Regions from separate parts of the Homo sapiens genome. Here regions 2 and 3 are each linked to region 1. The links are contacts of gene promoters, found by promoter capture Hi-C in human tissues and cell types (Jung and others, 2019). All regions are on one chromosome and are shown on one strand. Each heading gives the region's core, a stretch centred on a gene start or on the middle of the fragment in contact. The rest is flanking DNA. Distances are from core to core; before and after follow the strand shown.

What was found. The method cuts DNA at HindIII sites, captures the fragments that hold promoters and counts their contacts. A contact is called where the count stands out against the background at its distance.
Region 2: a contact is called between a fragment that was not itself captured here and the fragment with the promoter of RXFP3 in region 1, in 1 of the 25 tissues and cell types used here (mesenchymal stem cells).
Region 3: a contact is called between a fragment that was not itself captured here and the fragment with the promoter of RXFP3 in region 1, in 2 of the 25 tissues and cell types used here (IMR-90 fibroblasts and aorta).

Annotation. Positions count from the first base shown.
Region 1 is chr5:33,934,779-33,938,026 of GRCh38, forward strand. RXFP3 (relaxin family peptide receptor 3) reads left to right here and starts at 1,608. Exons shown (of 1, transcript NM_016568.3): 1 at 1,608-3,248. The coding sequence starts at 1,963. The HindIII fragment of the contact is 8,299 bases long and covers 1-3,248 here.
Region 2 is chr5:33,788,940-33,792,379 of GRCh38, forward strand. The region is part of intron 2 of ADAMTS12 (ADAM metallopeptidase with thrombospondin type 1 motif 12); the gene reads right to left. Among named protein-coding and RNA genes, the nearest start is that of ADAMTS12, 100 kb to the right of the region's middle. RefSeq lists an enhancer at 1-475. The HindIII fragment of the contact is 7,532 bases long and covers 1-3,440 here.
Region 3 is chr5:33,727,066-33,730,269 of GRCh38, forward strand. All of the region lies in intron 3 of ADAMTS12 (ADAM metallopeptidase with thrombospondin type 1 motif 12), which reads right to left. Among named protein-coding and RNA genes, the nearest start is that of ADAMTS12, 160 kb to the right of the region's middle. The HindIII fragment of the contact is 3,802 bases long and covers 1-3,204 here.

The sequences.
Region 1 (3,248 bases), core at 358-2,857:
AGAAATAACCTGTGCTTTGGGAGGAATCCTCAGGGCAGGGGTGATCTCCAGGTAAGAACTGATCAAAGGAGATGTTTGTGTTTGGCTAGGTTTTTACTAAAGCCCTTACTCCCTCTAGTGGGAAGACGGAGCTGTGCAGCATCCGTAGCAAGGTGTGTGCTCTTCAGGGCTAAAAGTCCTTTGGAATCAAGATTGTTTCTTGTTTCTTTTTTTTTCTTTTTTCCTTTTTCTCTTTCTTTTCTTTTCTTTCTTTCTTTCTTTCTTTCTTTCTTTCTTTCTTTCTTTCTTTTTCGTTTTTCTCTTTCTTTCTTTTTCTGTTTCTTATCTCCTCAGCTTGAAGGTTGCATCCTCTTTATCTCCTTAAGTAAAGCTGGGAGTTCTGTAGTACTCCAGGAGTGAGGACAATTATGCTTAAGAAACTTTGGTTTCAGTTTAGTCCCAGACCAAGAGGAAAACATTTCAAAATTTTAAAGTAAATCCTAAAAGTGTAATTTACACCAGAGCGATTGACCTGGCATTTATGTAGACTGAAGCTTGAGAAGTAATTCAAGTGGTTTCCACTCATTCCCTTGGAAGAGTCCTTAGAATGTACTTCCATTGGTCTGAAAAACGCCTGAAAAAGAGTCCTGATGCTAACAGTAATGGAAATAGGAGGGCTGGTGGTTCACGATCAGCCCAGTGGTATCCTCTATTCTATTTGCATCTAGGTAAAGAGACTGTGGCCTGTATGTGATCAAACAATTTGTTGAAGCGCTTTGGGCTTAGGGCATTTAATTTCTGTGAAGTAGGACCATCAGTTGTTTGCTCTGTTTTTGTGTCACCTCTCAGAATACATTAAAGTAGGGGCAACCCTTGAGCCCAGACTTCTGCCATGTGAAGACCCTTTGAAAATCCTGACAAACACAGGTACTGCGTAAGTGGTCAGCTAATTAAAGAGGGGAGGTGGAGCTGTCCTTTGTGTATCCAATAAGTACCCATTATCTCATTTGAGCATGAAAAGAGGCCACTGTTATTACTTTCAAGAAGGAAAGTAAGCAGGATAGCTCATATTTTTAGAACAATTCCTCACCAAATGGAATAATTCCGGTGAAAAGTGGGAGTGAGGAAGAAAGAAAAAAAAAACTTCTAATCATAATGTTTGGGAATAAGAAAGGAAGAAGAAACTCACGTCAAAGCCGACTTTCTCCTGCAGCTGTAAAATAAACTCTTAAGACCCTTCCTGCTGAAACTCTGGAGAGGAAAACTGGAGTGGCGGGTGGGCTTTGCCTGCAGCTCAACTCTCCCTCGCGGCGCGGGCGCGGCTGGGTTCAGCACCTCGGAAAGCGCCCCTCGCGGCGCCCCGGGATTACGCATGCTCCTTGGGGCCCGCCGCCTTGGCCGTGCAAGTGCCACCGTAACTGGTGAGAGCCGCTGGCAACCCACCCGGAGTTGACAACCGCGGAGAGACGCAGACACCCACTGACCTCCAGGAAGCTGAGCGTGGTGGATGGAACTCTACGATCTCTTTCTCTCCAAGGACGGAAACCTCATCCAAGCAGTCCCAGAGGAAACGGATAAAGGTATTTGAAAGGGAGCGAGCGGCCCCAAATCGCACAATTGAGCGGCTGGGGGAGTTATGCGCCAGTGCCCCAGTGACCGCGGGACACGGAGAGGGGAAGTCTGCGTTGTACATAAGGACCTAGGGACTCCGAGCTTGGCCTGAGAACCCTTGGACGCCGAGTGCTTGCCTTACGGGCTGCACTCCTCAACTCTGCTCCAAAGCAGCCGCTGAGCTCAACTCCTGCGTCCAGGGCGTTCGCTGCGCGCCAGGACGCGCTTAGTACCCAGTTCCTGGGCTCTCTCTTCAGTAGCTGCTTTGAAAGCTCCCACGCACGTCCCGCAGGCTAGCCTGGCAACAAAACTGGGGTAAACCGTGTTATCTTAGGTCTTGTCCCCCAGAACATGACCTAGAGGTACCTGCGCATGCAGATGGCCGATGCAGCCACGATAGCCACCATGAATAAGGCAGCAGGCGGGGACAAGCTAGCAGAACTCTTCAGTCTGGTCCCGGACCTTCTGGAGGCGGCCAACACGAGTGGTAACGCGTCGCTGCAGCTTCCGGACTTGTGGTGGGAGCTGGGGCTGGAGTTGCCGGACGGCGCGCCGCCAGGACATCCCCCGGGCAGCGGCGGGGCAGAGAGCGCGGACACAGAGGCCCGGGTGCGGATTCTCATCAGCGTGGTGTACTGGGTGGTGTGCGCCCTGGGGTTGGCGGGCAACCTGCTGGTTCTCTACCTGATGAAGAGCATGCAGGGCTGGCGCAAGTCCTCTATCAACCTCTTCGTCACCAACCTGGCGCTGACGGACTTTCAGTTTGTGCTCACCCTGCCCTTCTGGGCGGTGGAGAACGCTCTTGACTTCAAATGGCCCTTCGGCAAGGCCATGTGTAAGATCGTGTCCATGGTGACGTCCATGAACATGTACGCCAGCGTGTTCTTCCTCACTGCCATGAGTGTGACGCGCTACCATTCGGTGGCCTCGGCTCTGAAGAGCCACCGGACCCGAGGACACGGCCGGGGCGACTGCTGCGGCCGGAGCCTGGGGGACAGCTGCTGCTTCTCGGCCAAGGCGCTGTGTGTGTGGATCTGGGCTTTGGCCGCGCTGGCCTCGCTGCCCAGTGCCATTTTCTCCACCACGGTCAAGGTGATGGGCGAGGAGCTGTGCCTGGTGCGTTTCCCGGACAAGTTGCTGGGCCGCGACAGGCAGTTCTGGCTGGGCCTCTACCACTCGCAGAAGGTGCTGCTGGGCTTCGTGCTGCCGCTGGGCATCATTATCTTGTGCTACCTGCTGCTGGTGCGCTTCATCGCCGACCGCCGCGCGGCGGGGACCAAAGGAGGGGCCGCGGTAGCCGGAGGACGCCCGACCGGAGCCAGCGCCCGGAGACTGTCGAAGGTCACCAAATCAGTGACCATCGTTGTCCTGTCCTTCTTCCTGTGTTGGCTGCCCAACCAGGCGCTCACCACCTGGAGCATCCTCATCAAGTTCAACGCGGTGCCCTTCAGCCAGGAGTATTTCCTGTGCCAGGTATACGCGTTCCCTGTGAGCGTGTGCCTAGCGCACTCCAACAGCTGCCTCAACCCCGTCCTCTACTGCCTCGTGCGCCGCGAGTTCCGCAAGGCGCTCAAGAGCCTGCTGTGGCGCATCGCGTCTCCTTCGATCACCAGCATGCGCCCCTTCACCGCCACTACCAAGCCGGAGCACGAGGATCA
Region 2 (3,440 bases), core at 445-2,944, 150 kb before region 1:
TCAGCAGAGGTTCTTCCCTTCCCAGGAGTCTAAGAATCTCCCTAACAGTGAAATCCCAGCTGGCCAAAAATGTGAGTCAGGGTACAGAAATCTGAACCACATCCACATACTCAGGATCACACGGATTCTGTACATCAAAGCATGATTTTCCTCTCTGAGTCATGATTGGGATCTATGAGAACACGGGAGGTTTCATAGGCTGTGGACATTGTGTGAATTCCCTAGGGGACAGAAAGGTCTCTCACACACACTCAGCAAGGAGAGAGCCTGACGGCTGCTGTGTCCCAGGCCCAAGGCCTCAAAGACCCAGAGAACCAGCTGCTGTCCCACCATGGATGTCTATGAAATAGGGACACAAATACAGCTGCCAATGAAACTCCAGCAGCAGATGCTGCCCACACATGGCCTCCCCCAGGGCTGAGAGTGAGCCATCTCCAAGGAGAGGTTGGAGATGGAACAGCCACCATTGTCCATGCCTCACTGCTTAATACACAGTCTGCTTTTAGGGTCTCTAGACCGCTCTCAGGGTCTCTTCTTTATTCTGTCAGAGAAAAGCCAAGGGAGGTTTCTGCACTTCCCTCATTGGTCTCTCTGGAGGAAAGCAGAAGCTAATAACCCTGCCCAAGGAGGAAAATGGCTAGTGGCTGCGTAGAGTACCTCAACAGCAGTCCCAGCAGGTTTAAAAATAAATGATGAATGTGTTAGCAACATCAGTGCTTTGATAGAAACACACACAGCGTTCTTGACAGTCCTTGGCACTTCAGAGCTGTGGCTGGCTTTTCTTTAATTTTGAAATTACTTAGTGTCCCTGACAAATGAACAAACACAGGGGAAAGTCCATTTCCCCACAGTGCTCTCAAGTTCGTTCTTGGCATGGAAGCGCCATGTGGTCTGCAGCCTCTTCTTTCTAAATGGACAGTTCAAGCCTGCCTCTCATGGATTTACTTTGCCTAAGAATACAACAGTGTTGATTGCCAAAGTATCTTAAAGCAAATCCGCTATCTCATGTCATTTCACCCCGAGACTACACTATGAATCCTTAAAATTACGGACCTTTTCAAACATAACCACAATATTATTATCACACCTAACAAGGTTATAGAACAATTCCTGGGTGTTATCTAATAGATTATCAAATTTTGTAGTGCTCTTTAAAAAAAAAGTCTCTTTACAGTTCATCCATTCGAATCAGGTGCGGCCAGAGTCCACACATAGTATTTAGTTGTTTTATCCTTAAGTCTGTTTTCTTTTAGAGCAGTTCCATCTCCCTTTTTTTCCTGCCATTGGCTAATTGCAGAAACCAGTTGATTGTCCTTTAGAATGTCCCACATCTGGCCGGGCGCGGTGGCTCACGCCTGTAATCCCAGCACTTTGGGAGGCCAAGGTGGATGGAACACAAGGTCAAGAGATCAAGACTATCCTGGCCAATGTGGTGAAACCCCGTCTCTACTAAAAATACAAAAATTAGCTGGGCATGGTGGCGCATGCCTGTAGTCCCAGCTATTCGGAAGGCTGAGGCAGAAGAATCGCTTGAACCCAGGAGGCGGAGGTTGCAGACAGCCGAGATCGTGCCACTGCACTCCTCCAGCCTGGGTGACAGAGCAAGACTCCATCTCAAAAAAAAAAAAAAAAGAAAAAAGAAAAAAGAATGTCCCACATATGGATTTGTCTGTTGCTTTCTCCTTTAACCTTTTTCTCCTGTAAATTGGTCAACAGAGCTAAAGGCTTTATTAAAGTGTGTGTGTGTGTACACACACGCACATGTGTGCACATAGAGATTCAGGTATACACACAAACACACATATACTTGACTCTAATCAAACTTCTAGCTTGACATACAAACATATATATATATATATATATATATATATGCATGTTGATATATATATGGCTAAGGTGCAGACATCAGCTACATGTATATGTGTATATGTAAGAATACTGAATAGGTGGTGCTGTGTTCTTCCTGTTGCATCCCACAGGAGAAACCCCTAATGTCTGGTTCTTGCACATTTAGTGATGTTAACATTGGTCAGAGGGTTGCATGGTGATTCCCAGTCCCTCCACTACAGAGCATGCGGTCACACTCTCATGATGAAAGCAATCTAGCCAGATCTAAAACCACTCCAGGAGATGGAGGACAAGGCCTCTGAGCTAAGCTCCACACCTGATTTCTTACCCCACCCAGGTCACAGCTACTCACATGCACAGCAGCATGGCTGGCCAGTACCTCTTGACTCTCAGCAAGAATTAGATGTCTGGTAGTTATTGAGTTGGATGTTCAGGCTTAAAATATAAAAGTCTCCAATGAAAACATCCTGGGCAATATGAGGTACTGGGAATTTTGAGATTCTCAACCTGACCCTGATATTAATATGCTCTGTAATGCTAGGCAAGTCACCTAAACTTTTCTGAATCTCCAACTGTAAAATAAGGGAGTTGGTCTCAATCTCTTTCAGCTCTAAATTCCTGTAAGATATATTTTATTAATCCCTTATACATATATCCTTGCTGTGCCTAGATGCCTTAAAAATTTTTTTTAACAAAAACAAGGACTACTAAATAAAAAAAGAACTAGGAAAAGTGTTTATCCAAGCCAATCAGATTTTTATCACCTGGGAATTAGAAATTTGTACTTCTATGCAGTGACCTATATAATAGGCAGCTAAGCCACTTTAATGGAAATTCTCTAGAGAAAATGTCCATGAATGCTTGTTTCTTTGGTCCCTGAAATTTCTGAGTCTTAGTTGTTAAGTCTGTCTGTGGTTCCTTGAGATACCCCAGATATCCTTCCAAACCACCCAATCAATTCCACTCTTTTTTATTTCCTTTTCTTTTTTTTTTTTTGGCCTTAGGATAGCGAAGTTGGTATCTGTCATTTGATATAAAGGAAGCTTTACTAATACCCATCCTCCAAGCCTAACTCAGATCCTATACTCCTTGAAGACTGTTAGGCTGCATTGACCCTAGTGATGTCTCTTTGTCCATAGGTCCTGGTGGTAATTATCTGTGACATCTTTACATTTATACCTAGTCTTAGCTTAAACGTGCTTTCACACTTTTTTTTTTTTTTTTTTTTGAGATGGAGTCTCACTCTTTCATCCAGGCTGGAATGCAGTGGCACGATCTCGGCTCACTGCAACCTCTGCCTCCCAGGCTCAAGCAATTCTCCTGCCCCAGGCTCCAGAGTAGCTGGGATTACAGGCGCCCACCACCATACCCAGCTAATTTGTTTGTTTAGTAGAGATGGGACTTCAACACGTTAGCCAGGCTGGTCTCGAACTCCTGACCTCAAGTGATCTGCCTGCCTCGGCATCCCAAAGTACTGGGATCACAGGCATAAGCCACCATGCCCAGCCTGCTTTCACTTTTAAGTCCGCTAGATTGGTAGCAAAGGGACCCCGTACTATAGAGCCAATTGCTTGATACCATGAATGTGCATG
Region 3 (3,204 bases), core at 148-2,647, 210 kb before region 1:
TCTCTCTCCTCTCACCTCTCCTGGAGGCGCAAGGCAGTTGCCACCTGCCCTATGCTGCTGGACACTGCAGAGACAGGATCACCAAGCGCAAAAGCAAGGCAGGGTTGGCCCAAGCACAATGAACTGTGGCTGCCGCTGGACCTGTGTGTCTGGGTCGAGGTCAAGCCTCACCACCGAGATCTGGCCTGGGTGACGACGCGTGTGTGTCCTCGCATTTCTGAGTGAATTCTCAGTTATTCAAGAGAGGGTCCATTGGGCTCTCGCCTCCTTGTTTCTTCTCCTCCATGGAGGCATTTCATCGCTTTGCAGCTGCCTCTCCGATAGGAGGAAGTTAACATAGCTGTTTTCTGTGAGCAACTCTGCTTTGAAGTTAGAGCAAACCCAAAGCAAATGAAGCATTAGCTTTACAGACTGTCCTGAGGTATCCCTTTCATGGGCATTTTCTGTTTTCCAGACTTTCCAAGGGCTTCAACTGTTGTAAACACATGAATATTAACTCAGTTTAATTCAAAGGTGCTTTTGGCTCTCTTTCCAAGCTTATTCTCTTTATTGTCACACTGGCCTTCGTTTAATTCCTCAAAGAAGCCAAGCTGTTTATGCTTGAGGCTTGTATGCATCCTGTTCCCTGGAACACACTCTTTCTTAGATTTTGAACGATTAGCGCTGGTTGATTTGTCCATTTTCAGCCTAAAAGTCCTACAGACCATCCTATCGTCTCCTTTGCCCTCTGGTGCTTCATCCCACTAATTCCGTTCCTGGTATTTATCGGTTTGCCTGTGTTTATGTTTACTTATTTGTAATTATTTATCTGTTTCTTTACCAATGTTCCCATGAGGCAGTAGGCTTACTGAGAGCATGGCACCTGTCACATTCACACTCTACGCTCAGCATCTTTAATGCAAGCCCTCAATAGATACCTGCAGATTGAGCAAAAGCATGAAGATTGCAACCCCTCTTATTTTCTAAGGAAAGGAACAAATATATTAAACAAAAATTGGCTCATACCCTGGAGTGTCCCTGAAATGCACAGGCAACAGTTAAATGACTGTTGGACATCCTCATCTTCCTTCCAGAGCAGCCCTGAGACCATCCTCTTCCCCTAGAAGGAGGCCCAGTCTTTTTCTGTGCTGCTGGATTCTCTGAGGCAGAAGGACATTATCCCACTCGGGATGTTCACTGAAATGAGACATTTCAGCTGAAAATCCACAGCCTACGAGAGAAGTGGAAAGGGGGAGGGGAAGAACAGTGTCAGAGCATTGGACACGAAAGGGATGCTCTGAGCAAAACCTGGAGGAGTTGGCTTCCTTCCAGGACACTGTTGGCTGTGGGATGAGACCTTGGTGGCAGGTGTGACTCCCCTCCTGTCCGAATCAGCCTCTTAACTCTGCCACTTGCCTCCTTCAGACTCGCAAAGCCCTGTTCCTGGTGGCCCTCACCATCCTCTCAGTGTGGCCTCTAGTCATGGGCTGTCACTGGGATCAGCCTGGCCCTGGGCCTCTCTGCCAAGGCCATTTGCCCTTTAAGCCTCACCTCTCCTCAGGGAGGGAAAGACAGTGTTCCTTCTGGCCTCAGGCTCAGGCGACCACCAGCCTCTTCCACAAAACACCTTAGCACCCCAGCCTGAAGAAGGCCAGCTACCCCTGTAGAGAGCTCTGACTGTGTGTAGGAAAGGGGAAGGCCATCAGAACAGTCATGGAGAGAAAAGATTTCTAGAATCAAACGACTAACCAGTAATGTCAGGTATGGTTGAACTCATCATTTCACCTCTCAGTTGTACTAATCTCATTTATAAAGTATATTTCATTACAAAGTAGCATGTATCATATGCATATATGCTTATATAAATGCACATGCATATGTGTATATGTACATGATATATCATATGCATATATGTGTATATAAATGCACATACATATATGTGTATATGTACATGATATGTATACATGTTTGCACATATGTGTAGGAAAACCGATGAGCATCAAATATGAAATATTAACAATATTAGCTTGGTATGATGATGACAGCATACTGATATTTTATATTCTTTATACATGTATGAACCTTCCAAATGTTATATTATACAAACTATTAAAAAGGTAAACTGGGACACAATAACATTTTAGAGTTTATTTGAGTGAATAGCAATTCATGAATCAAGCAGCCCCAAGCCAGAAGTGCTTCAGGGGTTCCATTGGAGAAACATAAAGGATAAGCTTTTATAGAGTGAATGTGGAAGTCATGCAAAGAAAATATTTGATTGGTTACAGGTATAAAGTTGCCATATTTGATCTACCTCACTGGAAAGTCCCTAGTTGCATGATTACAAGTTAGTTGGCTGCATCTTATTGGTTGAGCTTAAATTGTTTCACTCTAATACAAGCATTCACAAGAAATAGCCCAAATTAAGTCTCCTTCCCATTTCCAATGTAAGCAAAGTTAAGGTTATTTTCAAGACCTAACTGGCTTTGTCTGCTCAGGGAGTTTTTGTGGCCTCCATTTTAATTTGCTTTAACAACACATAATTTACATACTTAGAAAGAGTTTAGTAAGAAAATAATTTCCAGACTGCTGACTTCAGAGGGTAGATGTGAGCCCCGGTGGGATGGTACTCTGAAGGGTTCTGAAAAGTCAGAGGCATCACCCGATGCCTCTGGGATGCTGGAGACTGGCAGGTCAGGCAGATCCTACTGGTTGGCAAGTGGCAGAGTGTCCCAAAGTTTCTCTCTAAATAAAGGAAGAGACACTGGCAGTGGCTGAGATTGATAACACCCAATTTCAGGCTTTAGAGCAAGAGGGTTGGAAATCAATTTGTGTGTGGATTATGAATCACTGATACACAGCATGTGGCTTTCCAAATATTACTTACTAAACCACCCAACATTTTCCAAATATAGTAATGATTAAGAGTCTGTCTATGGGCAAAAGTTCCATTCTGGAGCTCCAAAAGTTCCATTCTGGAGCTCCAAGGCAAAAGTTATACATTAGAAGGCTTCTTTCTTCCACCCTGAGGCTCTTGACGAAGTCCTTCACTACCCACCCACGGGTAGAAAGGAGACCCACATTGTACAGGTTACAGATCAAATATGAAATCTGAATCTTTCTGTGTGATATGGGATTAGACACAGTTTATGCCAATAGTTGCAAAAACAGCATATGTGTGGCATTGTATAAGTATCACTATTGTATAAGGTGCTGGTGCTATTA